Linked DNA regions of Homo sapiens: all the other regions are linked to region 3. The links are contacts of gene promoters, found by promoter capture Hi-C in blood cells and fetal thymus (Javierre and others, 2016). All regions are on one chromosome and are shown on one strand. The core of a region is centred on a gene start or on the middle of the fragment in contact, and the rest is flanking DNA. Distances in the headings are between cores, read along the strand shown.

Evidence for each region. The method cuts DNA at HindIII sites, captures the fragments that hold promoters and counts their contacts. A CHiCAGO score of 5 or more calls a contact.
Region 1: a contact is called between a fragment that was not itself captured here and the fragment with the promoter of SH3RF2 in region 3, in 1 of 17 cell types (neutrophils). The highest score is 5.1, in neutrophils.
Region 2: a contact is called between a fragment that was not itself captured here and the fragment with the promoter of SH3RF2 in region 3, in 1 of 17 cell types (M0 macrophages). The highest score is 5.6, in M0 macrophages.

What each region holds. Positions count from the first base shown.
Region 1 is chr5:146,059,089-146,061,832 of GRCh38, forward strand. SH3RF2 (SH3 domain containing ring finger 2) reads left to right here. Exons shown (of 10, transcript NM_152550.4): 9 at 778-1,136. All of the region lies in intron 1 of LOC107986458 (a long non-coding RNA gene), which reads right to left. Among named protein-coding and RNA genes, the nearest start is that of PLAC8L1, 45 kb to the right of the region's middle. The HindIII fragment of the contact is 2,110 bases long and covers 253-2,362 here.
Region 2 is chr5:145,826,034-145,829,235 of GRCh38, forward strand. The region is part of intron 1 of PRELID2 (PRELI domain containing 2); the gene reads right to left. Among named protein-coding and RNA genes, the nearest start is that of PRELID2, 7.7 kb to the right of the region's middle. The HindIII fragment of the contact is 1,276 bases long and covers 840-2,115 here.
Region 3 is chr5:145,935,314-145,938,270 of GRCh38, forward strand. It overlaps SH3RF2 (SH3 domain containing ring finger 2), which reads left to right and starts at 1,265. Exons shown (of 10, transcript NM_152550.4): 1 at 1,265-1,381; 2 at 2,510-2,957. The coding sequence starts at 2,616. It overlaps LOC107986458 (a long non-coding RNA gene), which reads right to left. Exons shown (of 4, transcript XR_001742913.2): 4 at 388-450. RefSeq lists an enhancer at 1,003-1,580. The HindIII fragment of the contact is 1,154 bases long and covers 738-1,891 here.

The DNA.
Region 1 (2,744 bases), core at 58-2,557, 120 kb after region 3:
TCCAGCTTACAAACGAGAGAACTGAGGTGCAGAGAGGTGACGTGACTTAACTCATCCCAGGCTTTCCAGGAGGAGGTCTGATTCCAGATCCTCTGTCATGAGACATTGCAAAGCCCATCCTCACAGCCCTAACTGTGGAATAACCTTTCCAAATTTGCCTTTGTCTGCTGTTGTGCTTGCCTAGCCCTTGCCACTCACCCTTTCTCCCTGCAGCCCCCGACAAAAAGCAACCCCCACCTGCCACATGCCTAAAGCTTCTGTCAAGATTTTCACAGCAAGTCGCTGGGCAGAGTTTTCCTCTCTCCTCCTCTCTTTCTCCTTTTCCTCTCTCTCATTCTTCTCGGTTGCCTCTCCTTTGTGTTTCTCAATGTCTTCTATTTCCTATCTCTGATTCTGTCATGTGTTTCCTATTTGGTCTGACTGCCTCTGTGTCTGCTTCACGCGCGCGTGTGTGTGTGTACGTGTGTGTGTGCGTGTGTGTGTGTGTATCACAAGGCAAATGGAAGCAATATACCTTCTGACAGCCCCCCTACACACATACACACATACACACTCACACACACCATTCAGCCAGAGAGATATTTGCTGCCAGCATCAGCAAACAGCACTAAAAAAAGAATAAGGTCACCTTTGAAAGACCCGGAGAGAATGTGAGTGCAGTCAGATTAGGAAAGCGCTTGTCTATTCTGGGATATCAGGAAGCACTGCTTACCCAGCCCCACCCAACCTACTGCCAGCCGCCCCTGCTGCTGATCTCTCTGTCCTATAATTCCCCAGATGGATCCCTGCAGAGACCCCTCCAGTCCGGGATCCCCACTCTCGTGGTAGGCTCCCTCAGACGCAGCCCCACCATGGTCCTTCGGCCTCAGCAGTTCCAATTCTACCAGCCACAGGGGATCCCCTCCTCCCCCTCAGCCGTGGTGGTGGAGATGGGGTCCAAGCCTGCCCTCACGGGGGAGCCCGCCCTCACGTGCATCAGCAGGGGCAGTGAGGCCTGGATCCACTCCGCGGCCAGCTCCCTCATTATGGAAGACAAAGAAATCCCCATCAAGAGTGAGCCTCTGCCAAAACCGCCCGCATCTGCCCCACCATCCATCCTGGTGAAACCAGAAAACTCAAGAAATGGCATCGAAAAGGTAGGATCAGAGTGACATTGGGGGCCCAACTCTTTCGATCCCGTACTATGCATAGTGTCTCAGCTCAGAGATTTTAGTGTTGGTGAACAAGGAACCAAAATTGCAGCCTCGAAAGAATCCTCACACATAACACTCCTCCTCCCCAACTCCCCACTGAGCCATGGCCAACATCCCCAACATCACCCACGCCCTCCCTACATGTGTTACTGATTCGCCTTTATGTTTCCTGAATATTTTATACATCTTTTGAGGCCCAAAAGTGGCTTGAAAAAAAAGCATGACTTTGGCATTAGATGAATCTTGCTTTGAATTCTAGCTTTGCTGCTTGCTAGCTGGGTGACTTTGGTCAAAATACTTCACCCTTCTGAGTCACTTAGTTTGCATAATCTGTAAAATGGAGGTAGAAAGAGTAATGGCCACACAGTAATGGAGTGGAGATTAAACGAGATATGTGAAGTGCTTACATAGGGTTTGACACATAATTATGCATTGTATAAAAGGGGCAACTGAGGCACAGGATAATGTAAGTGACATCGAGGTCACACTGAATGATAATGACTCCAACTACCTTATTGTGACCTCTGTGGCAGACGTCAGATCTGTTAACTTCTAGTCCAGGATATTTCCCACTAGAAGACGTGAGAGTTTTTGTAAAAGGCTTATGTTCTCAATAATATCCTTGAAGCAGGAGGAATAGTGGGAAGAGAGGACAGTAAGAAAGTTAGGTGATGCTTATTGCTGTCTTAATTTATGAACATCACCATCATCACATCATCGCCATCACCACCTCCATCACCACCGCCATCAGCATCATTCCACCATCATCGTCCATTCCCCTCAGAACGGAAAGAGGATGCGATTCCCCCATTGGTTAACCAGTTATCGAATACTAACAAGCTGGCAGGCACTGTGCTGAGTACTTCATGTGTCCCATATATTTAATCCTGACAACAACCCTCTCAAATAGGCATTAGTTTCATCCTCATTTTAAAATTAGGAAATGGCAGCTCAGGGAGTTAAAGAACATTACCCAAGACCGCACAGTTGACACATACGTGTGGAGTAGAATCCAGATCTGATGCAAAACTCATGCTCTTACTGCTAAGCTATCAGCTCATAGGGAAAGGTATTGGAAAAAGCACTGACATATATAAAGGTTGGGAGTTCTTATTCTGAATTATAGAAATAATTCAGAGTTTTCTAGGCCCCAGTTGCCCATTACTCCAAGCTTTTAGATACAACTATAAGCATTTCATAAATGCCCAGACCTTGGCTAGATATTAGGAGGATCAGAACGTATGAAGAAACTCAGATCTTAGTGGGGGATACTAGGGTTGCATTACATGGAAGAAAGACATCATTCCTGAGCAGTACCACAGAACGCTTTATTAGGCCCTGAGATAGAGACTGGCTAAAGCAAATACTGTACCTATGGGTGCCTAGCAGATATATAACAGGCTAGGAGATGTGAAAGGAAAGAGGAAGAGGGGGAATTGGCATAAACTGGAGACCTTGCATCTCATATAAAGGGGGCACTGCTTCTCAGGTCCAGCCAGCTGTTGTCAGAATGAGCCATAGGCCCAGTGCGTCAGAGCTTTGATTTTTTTT
Region 2 (3,202 bases), core at 228-2,727, 110 kb before region 3:
GACACCTTTTCAAACACAATCCAGTATGACTGCAGAATTGATCAAGCTGAATCAGGATCACACCCATCAAAGACTTAACTGAGCAGCTACTGTGTTCACGCAGGGTGCTATCCTAGAGAAGCTGCCATGCGCATGATCTCATTCAGTCCTTCTCAAAGCGTGGAAACCTATCAAGTATTAATATACAGAGTATTTCTGCTATAAATATAATAGTGTAAAGCCCGCAGACAAGCAGGTTCACATGGGATTCTTCAATCCCCATTTCATACTAGAGACTCTCATGAAAGCAATGTGATCTGAAGACCCAGATATCTGCCAAAAGCCCTTGTCTTTCTTGATCCTGGCTTAGCTGATCACAAACTGCAGTGTGCAAGAGAACGATCCCACAGGCTGCATACATATGCCATGTATGCTATACTACTTTATGGATGATTTAAGGGATTTTTAAAGGTATATTTGACTTCATTTTGCATTTCCTTATAATTTTTAATTTCTTCACAGAACGTGTAAACTAACTCCTTTTCCTTTCCCGAAGACATGAAACTACTACAAATACCACTGTATATATCATATGTATGTAACAGTCTAACAAGGGTAAAATGTAGACGTGCCTAAAGCTGTTGTATCTGCTTGCTTTAGTTTTTACATATTAAAAGATAAGCCAAGAACTCCATAATATTGGGGGGGAATATGCATTAAAGCAAACACATATATATAAAAAGTTAGAGGCAAGAAACTGAATCCATCTAATTACAGAATATTCAATATGTTTCTGGGAGAAGCTTCATGAAGATATAACATTTTGCATTCATATTTGCCGAGGGAAAAAAAAACCCATAAGCTTTCAGAAAGCCTACTCTTAAAAGAGTTATTAAAATATGAACTTTCCAAAAAGCTCAAAAGCCAATGCCTTTTTTTAATAACATTTGCTTCCCCTCTCAGAAACAGTCAGTGACATCCAAAGGAGTCACTGTCTACCAATTTACAAATGAGGTTACCAGAGAGAGTACAAGGAAGCAGGTGACTGACAGATCTGTCTGAAGAGTCCTTCAAAGAAGGCAAAGAAGACCTACAGTAAGTCTGGTATATTAACATACCCGTGTTATAAGCATTAAGGGAATCTGTTATCTAGGCTGCTGCCAAACATGTACATGCAAAGAGATGGGGCTGCTGAAAAGAGATTTGGTGTTTAGCAGCAGAAAGAAATCACCATGAGCTATGCCAAATTCCTTTTATGAGCTCCACACCATAGTCTATCTCAGAAGAAAAGCAAAGTTGATTTTATACCAAGACGAAACGAGTTATAAATTAATCAAAATTTCAATGATCAAGGACAAAACGTACTTAAGTTGAAAAGTATTTGGAATGGCTGTTCATTGGTCTTTCAATAGGATGATGAAATAGAAAGAACAAAGGGCAACGAGCCAAGACATGCAGACTACAACGCTGCCATCTGTGAGGTCGGGGTGATGAACCACCAGGTGATCATCCAAGATCCTTCTGGCCAGGAAAAGCTATGGTTCCAAACAAAGGCCAACCAACAGCACATCAGCCTCTTTCTTTCAAAAATGACCCAATAATCAGCAACGGCATAGTGAAGGTTTTGAAAAGACAGTTTTTCATTGTAACACAGAGGAAAATCCTCTTATCACAACATCAAATGTATGCATAAACCCAGTGCAGCTAAAGATACACTACAAATAACTGCCCAGCACTCTTCAAAATCACCATGGTCCGGAAATGCAAGGAAAGACTGAGGAACCGTCCTACACTGCAGGACACTGGCAGCTAAATGCAATGTGGGGTCCTGAATTGGATGCTAGACTGGAAAAACGATACTAGTGGACAATTGACAAAATCTAAATAGGGTCTATAGGTTAGTTAATAGCATTGTATCAGTGTTAATTTCCTGGTTTTAAAAAGTATACTGTGGTTTGGGGAAGCTGGAAAAAAGTATGTGGGAATTCTTTGTTTCTGCAATATTGTTTTTGAAATGTTTTATAAGTCAAATTATTTATAAATGAAAAGAAATAAAAAACAAAATTAAAGACACGATGTTAGAAAACAGTGAATTTTAGAGCCCAAGAGATCTGAATTGGAATCCTATCTGTGAGAAGCTTGGACAAATCACTTTAATCTGCCCTAGTTTCTTCATCTGTAAAATGAGAATAAATACTTACCTCAAAGAGTTGTTATAAGAATTAAAGGAAACAATTTAATTACAGTATAATACCTAGCACTGTGCAAGTAGAAAATAAATGTAGCTGGTTTTGCTACTAACAAATGAATCAACACTTTTGAAGACTTAAAAAGTTTCAAGATTTTGGTTTTTATCTTGCAATTTACTGTGGTGTGGCATTAAATACATTGCTGGCATCTATCTGCAATCCAAAAATACTTACACAATGATTTTAAAATGATTAGAAGATAATATATCTGATTTTCCTAGACTAATAAAAAACTCAGAAGCTCGTGCTTTACCAGTTCGGAATTTGTGTAAGATACAAGGCCTCCCTGACACTTCACTCCACACTAGCATTAGGGAAAGGGCTGCACCAGAGAAGTAAGAGTGCTGGAGAGAATATTTACTTGTTTTTAAAAAGACAACTGTTTCTAAATAGTTTAAATGCTTTCATGGATTTATAATTAAAATATAAATCTTGCCCCATACTACAATGTAATGTCTGCCATATGCCCCCAAGAAAGCCTTTATCATGAAAATTAATATATCCTCCTCTGTCCCTTTTGACAGTGAACTCCTTGAAGACAGGTCCATGTACTTAGATAGTGAAAAAAATCTTTTTTTTTTTTTTTTTTTTTTTTGAGACTGGGTCTCACTTTGTCATCCACGCTGGAGTGCAGTGATGCAATTACAGCTCACTGCAACCTCTGCCTCCCGGCTCAAGCGATCCTCCTAACTCAGCCTCCCGAGTACCTGGGACTACAGGTGTGTGCCACCATGCCCCGGCTAATTTTGGGGGTTTTTTGTTTTTGTGTCTGTGTGGTTTGGGGTTTTGTTGTTGTTGGTGGTGGTGGTGGTGGTGGTGGTAGAGATGGGGTTTTTGCCCTGTTGCCCAGGCTGGTCTTGAACTCCTAGGCTCAAGTGATCAACCCAACTAGGCCTTGCAAAGTGCTTGGATTATAGGCATGAGCCACCATGCCTGGCCAATATCTTCTGTCTTTTATACACTGATTAAGCCAC
Region 3 (2,957 bases), core at 15-2,514:
TCTTGCCCTCTTAGGGGAGGCTTAGCTCCCTTGAACCACCTCTTCACCTCTTTTTTTTTTTTTTTTTTTTTGTCGCCCTGGCTGGAGTGCAGTGGCACGATCTCAGCTCACTCCAGCCTCCGCCTCCCAGGTTCAAGCGATTCTCCTGCCTCAGCCTCCTGAGTAGCTGGGACTTCAGGTGCGCACCACCATGCCCAGCTAATTTTTGTATTTTTAGTAGAAATGAGGTTTCACCATGTTGGTCAGGATGGTCTTGATCTCCTGACCTTGTGATCTGCCCACGTCGGCCTCCCAAAGTGTTGGGATTACAGGCATGAGCCACTGCGCCTGGCCAGCCTCTTAAAGTTATATCACTCCATGACATTGTTAAGAGCACAGCCCACTTGCCTTCTGCTAGCTGTGACTCCCGAGATGAGTTATTTATCCTCTCTGTGTCTCAAGTTCCCTCATCTGCAAGATGAAAGTAAAGAATAGTTTAGTGTCTCCTTGGGTTGTTAAGGGGTTAAAGGGCTAACACAGGTAAGGTATTTAGAACAGTGGTTGACACAGATAAGGACTACCCTGGCATTAAGATTGTTATTATTCACTTAATCGGATACCTTTGTAATTTTACATGAAATGTATTATCGATAAATCAAAAAATAGAAATATAGGCATAATCTGAGGATATGAAAAGACTACAGTGGATAACAGGCAGGAGGAGAGCTTGGAGGCCACTGCTTTTCCTTTTTTGAAAAAGCTTCTCTGTGCTTTGATTTTTCACGTATGTGTATATACGTGACACTAGTTTTTTAATTTAAACAGATTGAGCAAAAAGATCACTAAAGTCCCTCTTATCTCTAAATTCAGAGATTGACTATGATTTTCAAAGAGCAATATTTTCTAGGTGTCCGACTTATCCTTGTTTTCATAGCTTGACCATTTTTACTTTTGACCTTCCCAGGAAATCCTTATGAAGATTTAAAATAAACACAATCACTTTGGTATGTTTATAATGGAGCAGGTTCTGACTCCTTGGATACTACAGAAAACGGGAAAGGTGAAAATATGAACTTTGTAAATACTTGGCCTTAGGGACTGGCTTATATTTTACCTCTTACAATCTTTTCCCAGAAGCAATTCAGTAAACTGAAGGAAAGATCATAAAGTTAACAACTGCAACAACAAAAGCGTGGTAAGTAGGCAGCGCCCTGGCAGTGAAAGCGTTAACAGGGCTGGGTAAGGCGATCCCTTGAAATGAGTAAGACTGAGTGGTTAAAGTTTTCAAAGCGGTTGGCAGCAGCGGCGCTTGGAGGAAAGGAAGCCGGTTGGAGGGCGCAGCGCACCCCTGCTGCGCGGAGGAGGGGGCTGAGCTGAACTCAGCAGAAGTTACATGCACAAGGTTAGTGGCCCCCACACGCCTCCCCAGCCCGCTGCCGCGCTGACATCTTTGGAGAGGAGGCTTAGGAAGGCGAGGCGCCATCGCTCATTCTCGGTCGTGTCTGTCCTGCTTACTAGTCGCTAGTGGGGCCACTGGCCTTCTCGCCAAACCTCTGGGCTCGGTGCTTACCGAAGCCCTGGCACTTGTGAGGGACAGCTGACTTCTTCCAGACTTTTCTAAACTGGAGGCTTCTTTTCATACATCCAAAAGGAAACTTGTTTCTGGAACAAGTACTGTTTTCAGAGTACACACACACACGACCCCTACCTGTATATGCTGCCCCAGTACGGTTTTTACAGGTCGTGACCACAATCCAGAATTCCTATCTGCTTCATTTGAAATTGAGAACAATGTCAAAGTAACTAAACAGGCTGCACTACTTTACCTTGTGGGAGGAACATTGTCTCTGAGCCTAAGGTAATCGGGATGAGGAGAGAAAAAAAAAAAAAGATGAAAAAAGAAAAGAAACAAAGCTTCCAAGCACCCTGACCTGTGGTTAAGGCAAAACAATTTTTGGAAATGGGTTTCTAGTGGAAATTTTTCTTGTACATTGCTAGAATCATGTGGGAAGGTATATTGTGAAGGAAATAATTCTACATCTGCATGAGATTCAGATAAACTTACCCACCTAAACTAATCTGCATGTGGTGCAGATAATAGATACATTTAGATTTAGGGGAAGGAGGAGGAGGAGATAGCTTCACAGAAATTGCGTTCGGAGGGGGCTTTGTTGTAAGAATTGAGACTGTCCAGGAGCTTTCCCCGGGCAGGGGGTAAAGGACCTCTTCCCGCCCTGGCTGGTAGAGAGGGGTTGGGGGGCCACTTCAGCAGGCCAGTTTATCTCCCTGCTTTCCTGTCCACATAGGCAATAAGCAGTCAGTCTTGTGCTGAATGTTCCCTCTGATCCTCACAGCAAGCACGAGTTGAGTCTTATACCTGCTAGCATTGAATCAGAATGAGTCATTTGAAACTTGGGTGCCGGAACAAAGTACTTGCAAACTGCCTTATGAGACACTGCCTCAATGTAGGTGGGATATACCTCTCGGAGCAGTCACATTTTTTTTTCTCTCCTCTCCCTCCTTCAAGCAGGCAAAAATTCTGACGTTCTCAAGAGACCAGCTCTGCCCCCGTGGCTCAACTGACCCTACCATGTGGACGCTGCTCCTCCAGGTGGGAACTGGAGTTTTGAAATAAAATGGATGATTTGACGTTACTTGATCTTCTGGAGTGCCCTGTGTGCTTTGAGAAGCTCGATGTCACAGCCAAAGTCCTCCCTTGCCAGCACACCTTCTGCAAACCATGTCTACAGAGGGTTTTCAAGGCCCACAAAGAGCTGCGGTGCCCCGAATGCAGGACGCCTGTGTTTTCCAACATTGAGGCGCTGCCGGCCAACCTGCTGCTCGTGCGCCTTCTGGATGGAGTGCGCTCAGGGCAGAGCTCCGGGAGAGGGGGCTCCTTCCGCAGGCCTGGCACGATGACCTTGCAGGATGGCAGGAAAAGCAGGACCAACCCCAGACGTCTGCAGGCCAGTCCTTTC